Regions from separate parts of the Homo sapiens genome. Here region 2 is linked to region 1. The links are contacts of gene promoters, found by promoter capture Hi-C in human tissues and cell types (Jung and others, 2019). All regions are on one chromosome and are shown on one strand. Each heading gives the region's core, a stretch centred on a gene start or on the middle of the fragment in contact. The rest is flanking DNA. Distances are from core to core; before and after follow the strand shown. Region 1 holds the start of ZMYM3 (zinc finger MYM-type containing 3). Region 2 has its middle 21 kb from the start of CXCR3.

Region 1 (5,352 bases), core at 1,545-4,044:
AAAGATTTTATTTTTTAAGAGCAATTTTAGTTTCACAGCAAAACTGACAGGTAGGTCCGGAGAGTCCCATATACCTCCTTCCCCCATGCAGTCACGGCTCCCCTGACTACCAACATCCCTATCAGAGTGGTAAATTTGTTAAAATCGATGAACCTACATTAACACATCATTACTAACCAAAGCCTGCGGTTTACATTAGAGTTAGTTCACCCTTGGTGTTTACATTCTGTATCTTTGAACAAATGTATACTTACAAGTATCCACTATTACAGTATCATGAGAGTATTTTCGCTACCGTAAAAATCCTCTGTGCTGTCTGCCATTAGTTGTTTTTTGTTTTTGTTTTTTTAATGTGGGGTTTTGTTTTGTTTGGTTTGAGACAGAGCCCTCGTCTGTCGCCCCGGGCTGGAGTGCAGTGGCGCCATCTGAGCTCGCTGCAATTTCTGCCTCCCAGCTCAAGTGATCCTCACACCTCCGCCTCCTGAGTAGCTGGGACTACAGGTGCACACCAGCACACCTTGCTAATTTTTTGTATTTTTTGTAGAGAAGGGGTTTCACCATGTTGCTCAGGCTGGTTTGGAACTCCCGGGCTCAAAGGATCCAACCGTCTTGGCATCCCAAAGTGCCAGGATTACAGGCGTGAGTCACTGCGCCAGACTTAAAATGTGGTTGTTAATGACTACGTCTGTTGCATAACCAAAATCCCCTATTATTGGGCATTTAGATTGTTTCCTTATCTGTTTTAAAGAGGAGAAAACTAAGGCCCTTCACTTGACAAGTCACTTGTCCAAAGTCACCTGGCTAAAAAGTAGGCAGAACTGATATTAGAAATCTGGTCTGACTCCAGAACCCATTCTTAGGCCACCACACTGCGTCTAGAATTAATAACACACCACTTAACCCCGTTAGATCAGCTCCCCTCAACTTGAAAGATAGTGACCAGGCACCTCCACAAGCAGAGCAGCCAAGGATTCAAGTATATGTTGAGGAAGGCAGGCAATACAGAAAAAACTAGGTGGCTCAACTGAGATGGAACAAGCAGAAAATGCAAAGGGGAGGTCCAGGAATAGAAATAAACAGGAGGTAGGAGATGGGTACACAGAATGCTGGTTAAGACAAAGAGAAAGCTGGATTTGGGAAATCTAAAAGTAAGAAACTCTGGCTTTTATCTCTGTATGTAGGAGGGAGCAAAGATAACCTCAAGGCCATGTGGGGAGCTAGCAAGGATAAGGTTTCTGGGAAAAGGAATGAGAAAAGGGAGGGTAAACTCCCGAGGACTACAAGAGCAGGAGAGGCTTTGTGTGGCCAGGAGGAGAGGCCAGAAGTCAACGAGGCAGGCTAGAATAGGCACTGGATACCAAACCTTCCTGTTCCTAAGGAGACTTCCTTCCAGCCTGAGCCTCCTCTAGTAGTTCGGCTACTAAATGCTCTCAGCCCTTAGGGGCTGTGGTGGGAAGTGGGGAGCGGGGATTGTAAAGTGCTCTAACTATTAATATAATGCGGACTGAGAATGGATGCTGGCACAATTTTTTAAAGGCAGTAGGCTTAACGCTAGTGCCACCTACCCCTACTCCACTTCTCTAGCCTAACCTCAGCCACACCCACATGCTAAGGACCATCCAGGAGGGGGGAGCGTGTAGCGCGCCTGCGTGCTCGTGCGCACGAGAAGCAGAGAGGCAGAGAAGGAGACAAAAAGAGATAGGGGGAGAGAGAGAGAGAGAGCGAGAAGAGAGAGACAGACAAGGACAGAAAGGGGGCTGGAGGAGAAAGAGAGAGAGAGATACAGAGAGAGAGAGAGAGAGAGAGAGAGAGAGAGAGAGAGAGAGAGAGAGAGAGAGAGAGAGAGAGATCAGCCCTGGTGAGGGAGGAAAACTCCATAGATAATACAGGGAGCTCCTGCAGGAAGACTCAGGGAGAAGATCCCAGAACTTACCCTAAGACTGTTGAGAGAGTAGGGGGTAGCTTTGCAGGACCTGGTTTGGGGGTCATCAAGCAGTAACGGTTACTGCACAGGCGTTGCCACTGAGCCAGAGCCATTTAACCCGACCTGTGTGGCTGGGGATCAAGCTTCAGATACCCCATAACTCTGACTCTCAGACTGTTTTGGGGGCCCCGTGGCTGCAGACAAGGGAAGGAGGGGCACGTGAGGGCTGGGTCCCTGCCTCCCCCCGTCCTCCGCTGTCACTCACTACCCCAACAGTCGCCCAGGGGGCGGGACCCGGAGAGGTGGGGATGGGGGAGGGTAATCTTGGCAGGCGCCTGCTGCATGGCGTAGGTAGGGACTATTGAGGGGGGCGGACGCCGAGGGGGTGAACACGAGTGGGAAGCTAAGAGAGACACGGGGAGGGGGAGGGGACCGGGAACCATTTGAATGAGAGGAGGGGATCACGGGTAGAGTGGGCTCCAGGAGGTAGGGCGAGCAGGGTGTGACGGGGGCCAGACTCTTGAGCCAGGTAAGGGGAGCAGGTGCGTAGATCTGTGTTTTTTGTGGGTGAGCGCACTCGGCCCTTGGGTGGAAAGGGGACGCCGCCTTTCCCGGGGGGCCGGCTTCAAAGCTCCAGAGGCTATCTTTTCCTTCTCAACTAACGGGGCCCCGGGCGGGGGCTCAGGCGCCGTCTCTAGTGGCTGCATTCCACTCCGCAATTTCCAGGCGGCCACTGGACTGGGAGTCTCGCGCCGGGGGCCGGCGCTGTCTCGCGAGCCCCCTCCTCGAGCCAGCCAATGGGGTTGGTTGCTGGCACCGCCCGCCCGCCTGGTGCAGAGCGCTGGGCGCTGCGAGCGGCGCTGCCATTTAAAGGGGCCGCGACCCCTGTCCCGGCTGCTAGGGAGGGAGGTAGAGAAGGAGCGCGGGGCCGTCGCTGTCTGCAGTTCTAGGCTTGTAGCCTTTGCACTAACCCTGCCGCAGGTAGGGGTCGGGCCTGCTCAAGCCGAACCGAACCTGCAAGCGGGATCTTGCAGTAGCCGGGAGGCGGTGGTGGGGGGGTCTAAGGAGAGATCGTAGCTCCAAAATGTCTTCCTGTAAATGCCTGAGGTTGGGGGTGGGCAACAGGAGAAGGGAGGACTGGAGGAGCAATGGGAAAGGGGGACGGGGCTGAGGAAGTGGGCGACCTGAAAGGTAACTGGGGGGAAGGGGTTGCGAAGGGCAGTTTGTGGGGGCGGGGGAAGGGCCGAGGGAGGACCTAGCAACGCGGGGAGGGGGGGTGGGGCCAGACAGGGTGGGTAAAGACTGGGGAGCTGGGGGGCTCCTGCAGAGTGGGGAGGGAATAGAAACTGAGATCGCGGGGGCGGGAAAGGCTCCTGGTGGCGACGGCCTTAGGAGACTCTAAGGGGGCGTTCAGCCTGAGTTGCGGGGGGTAAAAGGTAAGGGGGGAAGGGAATGGGAGTTGCAGTCGAGTAGGGGGGTGGGCGGGTAGAACGACCGACTGCCTGGCCAGTGTGGGCACGGGGCCAGGGCGGGGAACGCCTCTCCCCACTGGGGGCGCTGTATTGGGGGGAGTGGTCATTAGGACTAAAGCCTTCGGAAATGCTTGTAGATTGTGGTGGTGGGGGCTGCTCATGAGAAATCCAAGTGGATGATGGGGTGTGTCTCAGAGCCTATATAAGAAGGAATTCAGGCTAAGACCACCTCTACTGCCCCCTCTTCTACTCCTAATCTGCAGTACATATCCAGCCATACTCATGGACCCCAGTGATTTCCCCAGTCCATTTGACCCATTGACCCTGCCAGAGAAGCCCCTGGCTGGAGACCTACCAGTAGACATGGAATTTGGAGAGGATCTACTGGAATCCCAGACTGCCCCAACTCGAGGATGGGCCCCCCCTGGCCCTTCTCCATCCTCGGGAGCCCTGGACCTGCTTGATACCCCTGCTGGCCTGGAAAAAGACCCTGGAGTCCTGGATGGAGCCACTGAGTTGCTGGGGCTGGGGGGGCTGCTCTATAAAGCCCCCTCTCCCCCGGAGGTGGACCACGGTCCTGAGGGAACCCTGGCATGGGATGCAGGAGATCAGACCCTAGAGCCTGGACCAGGGGGCCAGACCCCTGAGGTGGTACCACCTGATCCAGGGGCTGGGGCAAATTCCTGTTCACCTGAGGGGCTACTAGAGCCTTTGGCTCCAGATTCTCCAATAACACTGCAGTCCCCACATATTGAAGAGGAGGAGACCACCTCCATAGCTACTGCAAGAAGGGGCTCCCCTGGGCAGGAGGAGGAGCTTCCCCAAGGGCAGCCACAGAGCCCAAATGCCCCGCCTAGCCCTTCAGTGGGAGAGACTCTGGGGGATGGAATCAACAGTTCTCAGACCAAACCTGGGGGCTCTAGCCCCCCTGCACATCCTTCCTTGCCAGGTAGGTTGCCTAATTATCTGGAGAATCAGGGCTGGGAGAGGGTGGTGGTAAGGAGGGGTGGCTATGTGCTTTGGGAAGTAGTGGGGAGGAGGAGGGTGGAGAGATAAGTGTAGGGATGTGTGTGGGGAAGGACTTGGGGTTTACGAGGGAGGAGTGGGGTGGTGTGTAGAGGAAGATTAAGGAAAGTAGGGGTGGGCACAGGCTGTGGGGGAGGAATGGGGTAAGGTTTCAGGGAGCGTAGGTTGGGAGGAGTGAATTTGGTGGGAAGGGTTCCCTTTTTCCTACCCCAGTGGGCTTTTGGTGCCAGAGTCCTTCCTTCAGGATTTGGGGGAGTACACCAGGCTTCTTGGTTCTAAGACCTTTACAGCTTTTTGGTTCTAGATGGGAGTGGGATTTCTGGGTTTGATGAATGGTAACTAGGTTCTGGAGCCCCTAACAGCATAAGGATTTCAGCAGAGCGATAGAAATGCAGGGTCTAGGATTGCGTCTCTGATAGGGGAGGGACAACCTTGACTTGAGAGGCTCTAGTGTCTCCCCTCTTCTGCCTAGTGGTGTGCCTCTATCAGGCTGTGACGAGGGTCTTAGGGCTTATATAACCACCTGAATCCAGGGGAAGCTACCCATACACTGATGCTTCCTTTTCCTTTTGCTACCTTTGGGTGGTTGTGTGTGTTTTTCATTGGTAAAATATAAATTCTTAATGAAAGGTATATTACCTGTGTTTCCTTAACCCCCAAGGATTGGGACAGAAAGCTGGTGGGAAGGATAGATTTTTTTTTTTTCATGGAATAGCTGCACGTGCACCCCCCCACCCTTAGTACAGAGCCTGAGGTAACCCTGAGAGGGGCCCCAAGAAGCCACAGGCACTCGAGTTTTCCCTTTCAGTTTTGAGTAAGTTCTTCCCCAGGAATGGAGGCGGGGGTTGGGCCGGGGAGAGGGTGGTGAGGGCAGGCTCAACATTTAGGCTGCCTTCTGCTTCCTTTGCAGGAGATGGCCTGACTGCGAAG
Region 2 (5,352 bases), core at 1,423-3,922, 390 kb before region 1:
CCACCCACCTCGGCCTCCCAAAGTGCTGGGATTACAGGCGTGAGCCACTGTGCCCGGCCGAAATAAGAGGAATTTAAGAGAAAATTATGAACAATTGTATGCCAACAAATTAGATAACCAAGAAGAAATTGGTAAATTCCCAGAAATACACAGTCCACCAAAACTGAATCATGAAGAAACAGAAAATCTGAACAGACCGATAGTAGGGAGACTGAATCAATAATCAAAAACCTCCTAAAGGGCCTGATGCAGTGGCTCACACCTGTAATCCCAGCAGTTTGGGAGGCCGAGGCTGGTGGATCCCTTGAGCTCAGGAGTTCGAAACCAGCCTGGCCAACATGGTGAAACCCCCGTCTTATTAGATGGGAGCACAGAGTGGAGATAGGGAGACCAGTGAATTCTCCCTATCTCCACTCTGGAAAAAAGGAAGTCATCTTGCCTGTGACAGTTGTCCAGGCAAGAGATGCTGGGGGCTTGGACCACAACAGACTATGGACTGGAGGAGAGGTGAAGTTTTCAAGAGACATTTAGGAAGTAACACCACCAATAGTTTAGAGAGAAAGAAGAAGGCAGACGTGACAGATTTTAGACCTGAGTGACTGAGAGAATTATGGCACCACTAGCAAAAATAGGGAATTCAGGAAAAGGAAGTGATTTGCGGAGAGAGAAATTTTTGCCTCGAACATATTAAATTTGAGGTGAGTGTAGGAGAGCAAGTATAGCTGCCCTGTAGGCAATTAGAAGCACAGGTCAGGAATTCTAGAAAGAGGTGAGAAGGTACCAATTGGGGAGTTTTCTCTTTAGAGGTGGTGATTGAAACTAGGGGTCGACAAGCCAGGTGCAGTGGCTCATGCCTGTAATCCCAGCACTTTGGGAGGCCGAGGTGGGCGGATCACAAGGTCAGGAGTTCGAGACCAGCCTGACCAACATGGTGAAACCACCCCCCCTACTAAAAATACAAAAATTAGCCGGATGTGGTGGCACGAGCCTGTAATCCCAGCTACTCAGGAGGCTGAGGCAGGAGAATCGCTTGAACCTGGGAGGTGGAGATTGCAGTGAGCCGAGATCATGCCACTGCACTCCAGCCTGGGCAACAGACTGAGACTCCATCTCAAAATAAATAAATAAATAAAATAAATAAATAAATAAATAAACTAGGGATCAACAAACTACAGCCCATAGGATAAATCAAACCAACTACCTGTTTTTAGATGGCTTGCAAGCTGAAAACAGGAGACATATATATATATATATATATATATATATATATATATATATATATATATATTTGTTTTTCTTGAGTCAGAGTCTCACTCTATCACCCAGGCTAGAATGCAGTGGTGCCACCTCAGCTCACTGCAACCTCTGCCTCCCAAGTTCAAGTGATTCTTGTGCCTCAGCCTCCCAAGCAGCTGAGACTACAGGCACACACCATCAAACCCAGCTAATTTTTTGTATTTTTAGTAGAGACAGAGTTTCTCCATGTTGGCCAAGCTGGTCTTGAACTCCTGGCCTCAGGTGATCCGCCTACCTCGGTCTCCCAAAGTGCTGGGATTACAGGCATGAGCCACCGTGCCCGGCCAGTTTTTACATTTTAAATGTTTATATAAAGACCTACAGAATTGCCTTGATTTTGCCTCTTGGCACACAAAGCCAAAGAGATTTACTCTCTGATATTTAGGAAAAGTCTGCCAAGGCCCCATCAAAACCATGAGAGTAGAGGTGCTCACCAAGTGAGTGGTGTCGAGGGAGGAGCACCATGCTTGAGGAAGAGAATAGACAGAGGTAAAACCACAATAAAGCAGCAGTAGAGATCAAGGAAGGAGAGTGTTTCAAAAAAGACAGGTGGGCCAGGGTGGCAAGTGCTAGACAGAGGATGAAGACTGCCGTCTGAATTTGGGAGCCGAGAGGTCATCATGTTAGTGGTTGTTAGGTTGGTGATCAAGTAGAGTGGTGGGAGTAGAAGTCAGATTGCAAGGGATTAACAAGTGAATAGTCGGTGAGCAGGTTGAGGAGCATGTATAGATTATCCTTTGAAAGAGTTTAATGGGCCAGCAAGGTGGCTCATGCCTGTAATCCCAGCACTTTGGGAGGCTGAGGCGGGCGGATCACGAGGTCAGGAGTTTGAGACCAGACTGCCCAACATGGTGAAACCCCGTCTCTACTAAAAAGACAAAAATTAGCTGGGCATGGTGGCTTGCTCCTGTAATCCCAGCTACATGGGAGGCTGAGGCAGGAGAATCACTTGAACCCAGGAAGTGGAGGTTGCAATGAGCCAAGATCGTGCCACTGTTCTCCAGCCTGGGTGACAGAGTGAGACTCTGTCTTGAAAAAAAAAAAGTTTAATGAAGGAATAGGTCAGCATAGGGTGGTATCTGGCGTGGAGCTGAGGTGTCTATAGAATGGAGGAGATCTGAGTGTATTATAAGCAGAGGGGAAGGAGATGTAGAAAGAACAACTGAAGAGGCAAATGAAATGTAAGATCATGGTTGGAGCAAAGCCTGGAGGTAGTGCTCTGGGGTGAGAGTCAGAGGACACTGTTGGCAAGGAAGGGGATGATTCTTCCTCAGCCATGACAGCAGGAGGCCAAGGAGAGGCAGAGAGGCTTTCTGGTAATGAGAGTGGTCCCATAGCATAAGAGGGAAGGACTTTTTCTCCTGCAAACTTGGACATTTGGAAGTTAAAACAGTAAGCAGGGGGTTATCTGGGCCTGGAGACCACCCAGAGACAGGGAGTGTAGAAATGCAAAGTAGCAGTGAGCGCACAGTGAAACGTCTGGCCACGAAGTTCTGTCTTGGCGGAGAGGTGACTGAGACCAGAAAAAGATGGTCTGGGAGAATGAGAATGGTTCAAGGGGCTGGAACCCAAGCTAGAGACAGAGTGAGTTTGGTGGAAGGAAGAGAATTGAAAGAACCAGAGGTTGGCCGGGCAAGGTGGCTCACGCCTGTAATCCCAGCACTTTGGGAGGCCAAGGCAGGTGGATCACCTGAGGTCGGGAGTTTGAGACCAGCCTAGCCAACATGGTGAAACCCTGTTTCTACTAAAAATACAAAAAATTAGTCTGGCATGGTAGTGCATGCTTGTAATCCCAGCTACTCGGGAGGCTGAGGCACGAGAATCGCTTGAAACTGGGAGGCAGAGGTTGCAGTGAGTCGAGATCATGCCATTGCACTCCAGCCTGGGCAACAAGAGCAAAACTCTGTCTCAAAGAAAAAAAAGAAGAAGAACCAGAGGTTATACTCAAATAAGAGGATTTCCAAGTTTAAAATCTTGAAAACGAAACAATGATTGAGTGAACAAGAAGGCATCCTAAGTGCGATTAAATGTGTGGGAGGCTGAATGAGAGTCAAGATGGAGATGACTGAAATTGAAAGGAACAGTTATAGGGTCTCATTTAATCCTCATCACATACATAGGCCATAGAAATGAAAAAACTGAGGCACTGAGAATTTAAGTAACCAGTCCAAAGTCACGCAGCTAGGAAATGGAGGAGGTGAGCTTTGATCAGATCTGTAACTCTCAGATCGAGTTGATTGTGTCATGAAAGGAAGATGGTGCTTTGCTCTCACTGGAGATAAGATCTGGGAAGGGGGTAAAAAAAAGATGACATGGAGAGGGGAGGACAATGTCCTGCAGATGAAGGCAGGTTGAGGCAGAATTAAGCATGAAGTTAGTTTAAAGACTGGGAAAGAAATAGAGAGGATTTAATATGTATAAACAAGTTCCTAAATTAGGAACTTAATTTTTTTTCATCTATTTTTCTGTGCCACATTTAACTAACATGGTTCTTTGGAGGTTATTAGAGTGCAGCACTTTCACTTCGTCTCTCAGTAACTACACAACAGTCTCTGAGGGTAGCTATTATTATTTTGCTCATTTTACTGAGGAAGAAACAGCCTTAAAGACTGTGATCTGTCCATGATCATACAGGAAGTGACAGATACAGGCATGCAGTCCAGATATCGTGTCTTTTGTTGATCCAGCTGAGTGAAAGCAGGACTTACTGCCTGCGCCACCCCTCTGGTGTTGAAGTCATCTCTAAGTCCAGTCCCTTAGCCTGAGGTAACTGAGACCAGAAGAAAGTGATCTGGGAGAATGAGGAGCCGAGCCCCAGGGCCTGAAACCAAGTCCTTGGAGAGAATCACTGAGAATCTTACAAGACGGTGGGAATATAGACCTACCAGGGATAGCCTGTATCTTCAAAGAATTCTTTAAGTGGAGGAAAAAGAATTGTTTTAAAAATTACAATCCAGAAGGCTGAGGTGGGAGGATCACTGGAGCCTGGGAGGCAGAGGTTGCAATGAGCCGAGATCATGCCATTGCACTCCAGCTTAGGCGACAGAGCAAGACCCTGTCTCAAAAAAAAAAAAAAAAAAAAATTAAAATCCGGTATCCAAAATTCTATTCTACGCTGGTGCAGACTGTCCTGTGGGAGCCCAAAAAGAAGCAGTCACTACTGCATTGGAGGTTTGAGGCCAGCTTCTGAAAGGAAGAGATTCCCAATGGATAAGGCAACTGAGTTAGGACAGAGCACATGGGAACACATGCACAGAGGCATGGAGAGGAGCCTGTTGACTCATTTGGTGAACAAACTTGGCAGTATGCTTAGTAAGTGGGACTCTTGTTAAAGAGCCAGGCCACTGGGGCCTTGTGTGTCAGGCTCAGGGCATCGACCTATATACACAGGGCCATGGGGAAGAGCACTGTCGAGTTTTGAACAGGGAAATGATATGATTAGATTTGTATCCTGAGCAATCTTTCCATATCAAGGCAAGACTGGGCACAGGGGAATCAGGTAAGAGGGGCTGTCACAGCGGGCCAGTAGAGAGATGCCAGCTTGAGCCTCGGGAGGAAGGGCAGAGAGGAGGGAACCTATTTAAGAACATACGCTTCTGAGCACTTGTGCTGGTAGGGTTGCTGAATCATCGCAGATGCACCTGTTGCCTAGATACTACCCAGCTGCTCTCCAAAAAGGCTGCACCAATTTACGTAGGAAATGTTCTTTAGAGCACCCCAGCTATTTTTCATTCTTTCTCAGTCTTCCCATAATGCTATTGCATATTAACTGCCCTGTGAAGGAGAATCATATTCTCTGATGTGGATAAAGAAAATCAAAAGCTTCATGTTAAACTTGTGATTCCCCGTGTACTATGCATGGCTCCCCCCTGCTTTCTCTTCTACTATGCCCAGGCTCCTCAGTACATTGAAAGGTGTATCTTTCTTTATTGTTAGTCATCCCAGACTATAAATCTAGGTATACAAGAAACATTGCCTCTCTTTATTGTTTTTCTATATCAATCTAATTTCAATTCTGCACTCCGTCTTGGCAGAGTCTGGGAAATTCACCCTGAG

The links. Contacts are between HindIII fragments. The study calls those that stand out against the background at their distance.
Region 2: a contact is called between a fragment that was not itself captured here and the fragment with the promoter of ZMYM3 in region 1, in 1 of the 25 tissues and cell types used here (pancreas).

Annotation. Positions count from the first base shown.
Region 1 is chrX:71,251,582-71,256,933 of GRCh38, reverse strand. ZMYM3 (zinc finger MYM-type containing 3) reads left to right here and starts at 2,794. Exons shown (of 25, transcript NM_201599.3): 1 at 2,794-2,905; 2 at 3,660-4,345; 3 at 5,333-5,352. The coding sequence starts at 3,679. LOC105373247 (a long non-coding RNA gene) reads right to left here and starts at 2,126. Exons shown (of 4, transcript XR_938434.2): 1 at 1,934-2,126. RefSeq lists silencers at 2,179-2,228, 2,249-2,298. The HindIII fragment of the contact is 7,971 bases long and covers 1-5,352 here.
Region 2 is chrX:71,636,656-71,642,007 of GRCh38, reverse strand. No RefSeq gene overlaps it. Among named protein-coding and RNA genes, the nearest start is that of CXCR3, 21 kb to the right of the region's middle. The HindIII fragment of the contact is 8,298 bases long and covers 1-5,352 here.